Regions from separate parts of the Homo sapiens genome. Here region 2 is linked to region 1. The links are contacts of gene promoters, found by promoter capture Hi-C in blood cells and fetal thymus (Javierre and others, 2016). All regions are on one chromosome and are shown on one strand. Each heading gives the region's core, a stretch centred on a gene start or on the middle of the fragment in contact. The rest is flanking DNA. Distances are from core to core; before and after follow the strand shown.

Evidence for each region. The method cuts DNA at HindIII sites, captures the fragments that hold promoters and counts their contacts. A CHiCAGO score of 5 or more calls a contact.
Region 2: a contact is called between a fragment that was not itself captured here and the fragment with the promoter of CCDC191 in region 1, in 1 of 17 cell types (neutrophils). The highest score is 5.9, in neutrophils.

The regions. Positions count from the first base shown.
Region 1 is chr3:114,053,319-114,058,891 of GRCh38, forward strand. It overlaps CCDC191 (coiled-coil domain containing 191), which reads right to left and starts at 3,208. Exons shown (of 17, transcript NM_020817.2): 1 at 3,059-3,208; 2 at 279-317. The coding sequence starts at 3,148. It overlaps QTRT2 (queuine tRNA-ribosyltransferase accessory subunit 2), which reads left to right and starts at 3,419. Exons shown (of 10, transcript NM_024638.4): 1 at 3,419-3,546; 2 at 3,681-3,788. RefSeq lists enhancers at 2,950-3,359, 5,468-5,573. The HindIII fragment of the contact is 7,070 bases long and covers 2,313-5,573 here.
Region 2 is chr3:113,005,213-113,010,785 of GRCh38, forward strand. RMP64 (ribonuclease MRP subunit p64) reads right to left here. Exons shown (of 9, transcript NM_015412.4): 7 at 5,431-5,492; 8 at 2,959-3,218; 9 at 1-792. The coding sequence ends at 324. Among named protein-coding and RNA genes, the nearest start is that of NEPRO-AS1, 12 kb to the right of the region's middle. The HindIII fragment of the contact is 574 bases long and covers 3,497-4,070 here.

The sequences.
Region 1 (5,573 bases), core at 1,958-4,457:
TTCACAACTCCTTTAATCCTCTTCATGTGATACTCATGGCATTTGAAACGAAGTCTACACACCTGTTTTCTTGTCATTCCTACTTAAATGGTATCATGAGAGGCAACAGAATTATGAAAAAAAATACTAAAAAGTATAAAATTAAGGCAACTTACATAGTCACACGGGAATAAAAATAGCAGAGTATGTGCAAAGTGGAGATCTATTCATATTTCTTTTCCATCTGATTATGCTTGACTCTTAATACTCTTTTTATTCTAAATTTGAAATATCCTTACCTTTATCCAGTGTTCCACACTGTCAGGACCAAAAGTAGGCTGTAGATAACATATATATGATATCAATACGCAGCAATATCTTTATCAACTTTGCCATTTAAATCTATCCTTCTGACTAAAGCATATGGAACAGTGTCCTTTATTATTTCCCCAAAGCATTTCATTAGAAAGTTCAGCATGATTAGCAATAAAAGACACAGAATAGCAGTATGAGGAGAAAACATGAAGCCTTCCTGGGACACTGATTGTTTTTATTTCTTGTCTAGGTCCACCTTGATATTGTGATTTAATTGGTCTGGGATAGGACCCTGGCACTGCTATTTTTTTAAACCTCCTTAGGGTTAAGAGTCAAGATATAGAAATGCTAAATATAAAGCTACTCATTAAAAAAAAAAAGCACTGATTAATTAGCCAGATTATCCAAGTAATCTTTAGCTTAAAGAAGGGTGTGTTCCTCTCCTTACTCCTTTCATAAGTAGCCTGTAGCAAGAGGCTTTCTCATCTTACCCAGATCAGGGATCTTGTTTGGCCCAATAAAAACTGAAGGTTAAAAAATCTGACTTCTACTGTTTTACAAAGCAGAAAATATAAATTTCCACCCAGATCAGTCAGGTATTAATCTGAAATTAGAAGTAAAACCATCAGGGCATTTCCTTTCTTCACTCTCTGTAACTCCTAGAAGCTTGGAGAATTCCCTCTAATAGTCACTTAACAAATAGAGTTATCTTCTTTGCCAAAAATGCAGGTGTGTTTTGGCCGGGAGCAGTGGCTCATGCCTGTAATCCCAGCACTTTGGGAGGCCAAGGCGGGCAGATCACAAGGTCAAGAGATCAAGACCATCCTGGCTAATACGGTGAAACCCCGTCTCTACTAAAAAAAAAATACAAAAAATTAACCAGGCGTGGTGGCGGGTGCCTGTAGTCCCAGCTACTCAGGAGGCTGAGGCAGGAGAATGGCGTGAACCCGAGAGGCGGAGCTTGCAGTGAGCCGAGATTGCACCACTGCGCTCCAGCCTGGGCGACAGAGCGAGACTCTGTCTCAAAAACAAACAAACAAACAAACAACAACAACAACAAAAACTGGGGAATGGGGCGAGGGTTAATCAATCTGACTTTTACTGTTTTACAAAGCAGAAAATATAAATTTCCACCCAGATCAGTCAGGTATTAATCTGAAATTAGAAGTAAAACTATCAGGACATTTCCTTTCTTCAACCTCTGAAACTCCCAGAAGCTTGCAGAATTCCCTCTAATAGTCACTTAACAAATAGAGTTATCTTCTTCACTAAAAATTCAGGTGTGTTTTTAAAATAAGGGGATATCCTGATGATTTGTCATTGGAGCACTAAATCTCTTTTGGTTTGGCGTTCCCAGTTCATGAATTGCTTCTTACTCAAATATACTCTTTAAAATAATAATAATAATAATAATAATAAAATAAGGGGATATCTAAACTAGCATACTGACACATGGAGGTGGGAAAAATATAATACTCTTTCACTTACCTAACACTTTACCTTCAAAGCATCTTACTGATAACTAACGCAGCTGTACTGCTTAATAATTTTGTCACTGCAACAAAGAAAGAGCTGATCTAATTAAAATACAACTGAACTTGAAGAAGCCCTATGTTTTTACCTTTTTTTCTCTAGGCAGTAATAATGAGCACTAGCAGCAAAAATCCTTCCTTTTGGAGTCCTAAGAAATTATTCTAAATTTTTACCTTTCATCATCAAGTCCATATCTATATCCTATCTTGGATCCAATACATTATGCAACTGATGTATTGAAATAGCAGCAGCCTCAGTTTCCAAGTCTCCCTGATGCTTCAGTCTGTGCCCTCTAGTATCTAGGGCAACATATTTGTCATGTGGAATATGTCCAATGCATTTAGCTGGTAAATTTAGAATAAATCGCAAGAACAATCGCCTGGGGCCCTCAAAAAGGCCACATACATCTACAGAATATTATTTAGGAAAGTATAACTTAAGGGTGAAAACAGCTGGTGAAACTGCTCTGTAGCTGAAAGCTGAGAAGCTTCTCCATTTTAGTACTCTCATTTAGATTTTAAGCATCTTTTTGGGGACTGTTAAAAAGGTAGTCTGTGGAAAGCACACGGTGCAACTGTGACTTTGCACATGTCACATATGTTTCAAGTTTAAAATGGGGTTATTATTTTTTTCTTATCTTCAGGTGCTAATGCATCCAAATGGGTGATAGATACGGAGAGAATCTATTTTTTGAAAGTTGGTTGAATTTAGAAATTACTATGTGAATCAAGTATTAATGTATTCAATATCCATTTGCACTCCTGAGTTTATTTAGATACTTTACGTAAAAGTGAAGGGGCAGGAATATAGGCAGGGTATTTAATGTGAAGCTCTCTCCCGTTAATAAAGATCAATTACCCCAAGATTTGCAAAAAAAAAAAAAGAGAGAGAAAAAGAAAGAAATGTGCGAGAAGTTTCCTAAAATTTAAGGTAGGGGGAACGGAGTTTGCAAACTCCTTTCACCCCGATGGGCATTAGCAGACACCTCCGGTTTTAGAAAAGCGTTACAAACAGTTCTTCCACGATGCTGCCCACCAAAGCCGTAATGTGCCCAGACCCCAGAGCTCCTAGAGCATTTCACTCAGGGTAATGCTGGCTTTGGGGCGGTCAAGGCAGGGGCGTGTCAGCTCAGGATGAAGAGGCAGGAAGCACAGACGGGCCGCGACTGGCTTCCTGACTGCGCCGCGCCTTGGGAAAGTCCCCGCCCTCCAAAGCTCTCGATTGGGATCACCTTGGGACTCGGCTTCCTTGTGAACCGTTTCCAGCGATTCAGCCCCATCCTTTTCTTTGAGAAGGACCTTCCCTGAGGCGCCAGGAGCATTTTCCAAGTTCGAGCCCGAACCTCGGCCAAAGCTGCAGCAACCGCCCTTCTGCCCGGGCTGCCTCCGGGTCACGCTGGGAATTGTAGTTCCTCCGCCCGCAAGGAAAGCAGGCATAGGACACCGTCGAACCACCACTCCCACGAGGCTCTGCGCAGGCCGCTCGCGTTGGCTCAGTTACCATAGCAACGGCAGAGGTCCCTCGCTCTTGCCGTCATCAAGGCTCGCTTGAATGTCGGCTTTGCTTTTTTTCTGGCGCCCAGTGATGACGCAGTACTCCCTGATTGGCTCTGCACTGGAGGCAGTGATTTTGGGGCAGAGAATTTTGCAACACGTGGTAGTGAACTGTGAGGAGTTTGAGGGGTCTGAAGACTGAAAGAGTCGAATGGTTTGTTGGCAGGTAAGTGCCCCTTTGCCCTGCTGGTGTGGGAGCTGCTAGAGATGGATGAGTCACGTCGCGTCCAGACGCTTCCTGGTTGTGTTGCAGTAACGGTGATTGTACTCCCGCCATGTCTCCTCTGCTTCCCTTTTCAGGGTGTCCTGGTGGATTGGTTTCTGTAAGTTCAGATTCTCATAAATCGTGTGAGCGTCGCCGACACCTCTGAGATAAAAGGGCCCCTTTCGACTAGCCTCTGCTGAAAGGTAGAGTTTTCAGGAAGTTTTTATTCCGAACTGCCCATGGGAGGGTGGGACCGTCTTCAATCTCTGAGCCAGGTGCCTAGGGAGGTCTGGGGCCATGGAGATGGCCCATGGAGCAAAGATAAATCCAGGCTTATTGGCTTAGCCGAGGTGTTTCCAGAGACAGCCCATTTAGGGGTGATAAATGGGCTTATAAAGCAGAGTAAAGATTTAGAACAGGAGTTTTGAATTCAACTACTTTGTGGCTATATGACCCTAGGCAACTTGTTTAATAACTCAGAGACCCTGTTTTCTCATGCAAAATGGGGACGATAATACCTGAATCACTGGAGTGTTGTAATGATTAAAAATAAATGTATGTGAAGCATTCTGCCAGGAAATGTAAACTAAAGTTGATTTGAAATTGGTGAAAATGAAGTTAGGGAAGCTATGCCCTCGGACTGTTGCAGCGATCCTAGGACCAGCTCTGTAACTGGTCTGTCTGAAAGGCGGTTGAATAAATTGTGCTCATACAAACTATGCAGTACCACGAAGTAGTTTTTTTCAAAAGGGTAAGTTAGCTTTATGTCTCTTCTTCAGGAAAGACGTCTAATGTTTATTCTTGAGAGAAAAGCAAATTGCAGAGAAGTGCATATATTATAGTATAATATGTTTCCATTTTTGTAAAAGCAAACCCTGACCAAAACACTCCCTCCCATATGCAAGTATGTTTAAATATTTGTATGAGAATGGAGAAAGATTGCAGAGACTGGGAGGATGGATTAGAGGCGGGAGGGAGAAAGGGAAAAGAAGAAGAACACTATAGCAAAATGGAAACTAAGATTATAATGTGCTTGTGTACCAGATGGAACTTCTAATAAGCTCCCAGCCTATTAGAGTACAGCGCTGAAAACTAGACTTCAATAATTAAAGTCCTTGCTCTGCCACTTACCAGCTGGGGATTTTATCAGCCTCAGTTTATCATACATAAAATGCAGATAATAATGGTATCTATATTATGCATTTGATCTGAGGATTAATGGAGTGAATATATAAAGAACAGTGCTTAATACATAGTAAATACCCGATAAATGTTAGTTGCTATTATTGTCTTTCTATATGTGAAATTAATTTAACTTTTATTGTGATTACTGACATTTGGAATTCTACCATCTTATTTTGTGTTTTCTATTTCTTTTTTTTGGTCTCTTTTCCTTTCTTGCCTTTTATTAGGTTAATTCATTTTTCTTTATCTTCCCACTTCCCTCTCCAGTGAGTTTGGAAATTATGCATTCTGTCATTAATCGTTTAACAGTTACTTCTGAATTTTTAACACACATACTCAACAAAGTTTAACGTCGTCGTTATCTCTTTCCCCCTACCAAATGGTGTAACGATTTCCGAATGCCTTGGAAAAATCTTCATTTACTGTTTTCTAGAATTGTAGCGTTCTTCATTTCTTTTTTTTGAGACGGCATCTTGCTTTGTTACCCAGGCTGGACTGCAGTGGCATGATTTTGGCTCACTGCAACCTCTGCCTCCTGGGTTCAAGTGATTCTCCTGTCTCAGCCTCCGGAGTAGCTGGTATTACAGGCATGTGCTGCTACACCTGGCTGATTTTTGTGTTTTTAGTAGAGACGGTTTCACCATGTTGGCCTGGCTGGTCTCGAACTCCTGACCTTAGGTGTTCCTCCCACTTCGGACTCCCAGAGTGCTGGGATTACAGGCGTGAGCCACCGTGCCCGGCCAGCGTTCTTCATTTCTGTGTGTCATTTCTGAGTCAGCTCAATGCACCACATTGTTTAAAAG
Region 2 (5,573 bases), core at 2,534-5,033, 1.0 Mb before region 1:
CCTAGTAAGTCATAAAATTATTCAGTTTTTCAGAGACTTACTAGCCTCACTCAAGGAATTACATCTGCTTCTCAAGGGTAGGCTGTGGCAGATTTTTCATATTAACACCTGACATGTAGTTGAAGCCAAAAAAGAAATACTTGTTGATGAAATGACACAATGCTACTTTAAATGTAGACTGAACTGAAATGAACTCCTGTGCAATGCTGCACTAAAGCAGCTCCTCTGTGAGTCCAGGTGGTACTTCCAGATCTTAGCAGTTCTACTTAGAACACTGAACTAGCCTTGTTAATCACTTAAAAGTCTCACATATGAACGAACATCTAAACTCCCATTAAAGCAAAAATATCATCAATGTCATCTGTCTCCTTAATGGTTCCTGATGTACTGTTTTTATTTATTTGCATCACCGTCCACGAATCAGTTTCATTTTCATGGATGCCTCTAAGATTTTCATGAATCATTTTCTCCTTAGTTTGTATGACAGGCATTGAAACTCCACTATTCAAGAGCTGCTTACTGTTAGGGTAGAGATCAGTTCTATGCACAGTACAGTGTGAGAGTCTCCACTTAGCACTGGTATCTGTAGCACTCTTCCGAGTCCCTTGAGAGAACTGCTGAATTTCCCTTAAAAGAGTCGACTGCAACTTTCTCTGTGGTTTCCTTTGTCTCCGTAAAAATTTATTCTGTGATCTTCTCTGTCTCAGATGATGCTTTGAAGTTTTGATACCTGAGCCACGAAGAAGGTGGTTGCAAATAGACGTTTTTATGCACTCTAGTTTCTTTGGCAAACTTTAAAAGACAGAGAGAGGAAAAATCTGGGCTTAAGATGAGAAAAACATTCTCAAGCACTTTTAATTTACCAACTGAAAAGAAAAATACACAACTTATCTACAAGTCCTATGCCTGTGTACAATCCCAGAACCACATCGAAAAATTTCACCCCAAGTCTGTTTTTTGAGAGCACAAATGCCCTCTGATTGAAGTGTAGACGAATGTGTCCCCATTTTGCTTTCAAACTCTCAAAAGTACAGCCGCCTAGCAATTAGCTGAATGGCGAGATACCCTATACTTTAGTGTCAGAGCTTTTCCCTCATAACTGCTAATCTGTTCATAATGTAATGAGTGGACATGAGGAAACATCACAAATGAAAAAATCTGCCAGTACGTATTAATCCGAATCTGGATAATCAGCTTCATGCTGTGGCAGGAAATGAACAAGGAAAAAGGAATAAAGGCTAAGAGGGGTTTATAAAACAATATGAAGACAGGGCTTCTGGCCCAGATACACAGACAGCCTTAAGCTACCCTAATTATGATTCATATGTCATCTTCAAGTTTGGAAATTCAGAAATCAAACAGCTGATCATTTTAGGTGTTTTGCTTCCACACACGGTACACTGCCACAAGGTTCATCAGTGCCTTGCTGAATTGTTTCACTGTTTGTGATAGATTTTAAAAGACGGGCATGGATATAAAACTTTGAGGAAGCCCATTATAATAAAGTAAATCATGATCTTTGCTTCCATACCATTTTCTTATCTCACTATAAGCAGTGGCTTTTAAGTGGGGAGAAGGTGGGTGTACTTCAGAGTTGAAAGGAAAACAGAGGGCCTGAACTGAGTTCCACATCTAACCCCTTGAGCAAAATCCTCCATTTACCCATCTATGAAATGGGAATAATACTGTCTACCTCACAATGTTATTATGGACATTAAATAAATTATAAAGTTTACTACAAATATATTAATGAAACAGCAAAACAGGGCAATCTATGAAGGAGCACTATATCTGGGGGAGTACTGAGTAATGGTTTAACCAATAAACACCAGTTTGCTACCCTTCTCATTAACTTTTAGTTGTTACCTCTGCCTCATCTACCCTTGATTTTAAACCCAATTTTAAACAGAATGCTTCTCTCCATCTCAGGCTGCGTCTCCAGCCATAGGATACATCACTTTTAGATTATTACAGACCTTTAGAGGAGCCATCTCAATGTAAAAACCCCTCAAGCACTTTATCCCTCAGGAATATTCAACCACTTTCCCCATAGCTTTTAATCAAAATGTGTTACAAAACCCTCACTGTATACTTTTTTTTTTCTAAAACAGGAATATATTTTATGCAAATTTTAAAAGAAAATTTAACAAATTTTCAATACGTGGTTCATCCCCAGGAATGAACTTTAAATCCCTGAATAGCTCTAAACTATGGATAAGAAATTATGGGGCATGCACAGGATATTTGTTAAAGAATACAATAAAAAACAGGTCAGAATAATTGCCTCTGTGAAGGTGGAATAGGCTCTTAATACATATTTGTGTCTGAAATCATTACCGTTAAGCCCTGAAGTGTCTAATGTCTAAATTCATGTAATACTTCATGCAATACTGGTTCACAAGCAAAGATAAGCACCCTTAAACAGTTGTGAATATAAAAATCACAGAAAAGAAATATAGATAGAGTCCAGCTGCTACAAACAGTAGCAAGTAGCAACAGTACAACACCCCAGCAGTCTTGTGTGGGCCTCATGGAAGGCAGGCACCTTCTGCTTCTGCTCTCATGCCCTTATCCCACTGCACTGCACTGAAGCTGTCTGCAGAAGGGCTGCCTTTCCCAGAAGACCCTGAGCTCCCTGAAGACCAAGTCACGTCTTTATGCAGTTGTATCCTCAGGCTCAGCACACTAGACACTCTTAATGGTTCCTGAATGAGCTGATGGAAATGATGAAGAGCATAACGGGGACTGAAGTCCAATTAACTTGTTTATCTTCTTCCTCCAATGATACAGCTTTGCTCTTACAATAAAAGCAGCAAATGCAATTGCAGTTTGAGTACATCCCAATTTAGCCCCGCTGCGGCTGCTGGACATCACATTTTAAAGAAAAGTGACCTGAATACTTTTACTCATAACAACAACAGAAAAAGTAAAGTAACATAATTTTTGCAATATACCTACCTAGTACCTTGAGCTTCCAGATGTTTAAGCCGGTTGCTTTTAAGAAGTTTGTTACCCAGAAAAATGGCCTGAGCCTTGAGTTTTTTGCTCCTGCACCATACAACTGCCATCTGGATTTCTTCAGAAAGTTGTGTGAAGGACTCAGCCTCTCGGAATCTTTGCACAAAACTTTTGGCATGAGGAGTTCCTATCACTTTCTGAGAAGAATACTTGGTTGTCTTTAGTCTGGATTGAGAACATTTAAAATCAAAACTGGTCTCCTGAAACGTGGAAAGATGAGAAAAATATATTGGACATGTTACTGACTTGTAATTATATGACAACAAGGAAAGCTAGCTCACAATCAAAATTTAAAAATTAGAATTATCAGTCCCTAAATGCTTGAAGTGATGGATACCCCATTTACCCTGTGGTTATTATGCACTATATGCTTATAACAAAATACGTACCCCATAAATATATATACCTGCTACGTACCCACAAAACCTAAAAATTAAAAAAAAAAAATCAGTCTGTAAGGAAATTTTTTTGCTCACTAAGCTTTCCTTATGTCTTTAAAAACTGAATTTTTCTCCACTGCTCCAAATACAAGTTGTTTTGTTCCCCCTCTGTACCAGGACAGGTCCCATCTGCAGCTGAATTAGATTGACATAGGAAAGTTAACATAAATATCCTAACACACATATCTCACATACACAATAAAAAAACCCCACATGATTAAATACTGGTCAAAGCCTAATTGCAGAGGGTTGGGGGATCACTGAAAGGCCCCTCTTCGCTACACCACCAGATTATCACGACTTGTTTTTCACTTATTTCCGTATCCTGGGCAAACCTCCTCAATTTAGAAATGTTTCTGAAAACAGGGAAGATATGGGGCCCTGCAGAGTGCCCAGCAGAATAAGCCCATTAATCAGTTAATGCCTGCTGAATATCTATTAAAAATGCTCAATTGAGCAACACTTCCAATTCTACTTCAACCATCTTCTGACAAGGCACCTTTACTTCTTCAACCCCTTCTTTCTATATCAAGTCACATTTGGATTTTACTAACGTTTACTATTTCTTTATGAAAATATGCTGCCTACGAGATGATCTGCTCTTTCATTCAAAGCTTACCTTCTTCCAAATTTCTTACACTCAAAAGGAACTTTAAAAAAAAGTAGAAAATATAAAAGTAATGACCCAGGTCAATAGTTTATGTTTGGTGATCAATAGAAGTAGTTTGCTTTAAAGCTAAGCAAGTTAGTGCTATTTGCTAAAAATATAGTAGCAGTTAGTTTTGAGTAAGAGGGATGCTGACCCACCAACTTCAAAGCCAGCTCACCTACAAACAGGTGCACAGGCTGCAGAAGTTTCAAGGTTCACAAAGCACCATAGTTCTTGAGATACAGTTGAAAAACTGTTCTGGGGACTGGTGAATAGTAAAGAAGAAAGACTATGAAACCATACTGCCTGCATTCAAATCGCAGCTCTACCATTTATTCACTATGTGGCCTGGCAGTTTCTTGGCCTTTCTATGCCTCAGTTTCCTCATCTGAAATATGAAAACAGTAATAAGCATGCCCACCTCACAGAGCTTTTGTGATATAATTACATGACTTCATGCATATAAAAGCACTTAGAACAATGCCTGGCACAGAAAGTATTACTCCTCACTCTGAATTCATAAATTGGACAGAACATCAATGGAAGCTGGAGTCCTTAAGTTCAAGAAAATATGTTTAAGAATTCTTAAATAAAAGAAGTAAACTAACCCATGAAAAATACCAGAAGTAGACATTTTGCAAAGACAGGGTTAAAAAAAAAAAAAAGTCAAGTTACTGAGTAAAACAGTAATGCCGATGTACTTATATGCTGTTAGGTCCAGAACAAACAGAATTTACAGACATTAATCAATCATGTTAAAACTTGAACCTCAACAGGAGTAAAGGAATAGCTTCATGACAAAATGATGAGGATGATGACCAAAATGACCGTAGCTAATAACATCTAACTCCAATTAAATGCTTACCATACTCCAGACTACCGAACGCTTTACATGCATTAAAACTAGCACAACCCTATGAGGCACATATTACTATTACAAAATAGAGGTACGGAGAGATCAGGAAACTCACAGAAGGTCACACAGCTAGTACCAAAGCCAGGATTCAAACCAACTGTCTGACTGCAAAGCCTATACTCTTAAGCTGCAGTACAATCCATACTTAACAACAGATCTTACGGTTACTTTAAAATTCTAGAGAAACTCCTACTAAAATATTTCTGAAGGTACTCTATTAACTGAATTAACTAGATGTATTAAAAATCCCTTGCCTCTATTCATTCAGAAGCACACACTGACAACTAAGAAGGCACTAAGCTTAGAGCTGGGGATAAAATGAAAAGATTCAATCTCTGCCCTTGGTAAGAAGCATCCTCTACAAATTAGCAGAAATCATAAGCTAAATTTAATGAAGCCAGACAAACCTGAGTAGCTTTGTGTTTCAGCTGGTTGCAGAAAGCCCTCACATCAAATTCTGATGACTCTTCTGTGGAGGTGGAAAAATTGCAGATACAAAACCTTAGGCATACTATTTTCAAATCTACAACAAATTCTTAAGTGCATGACA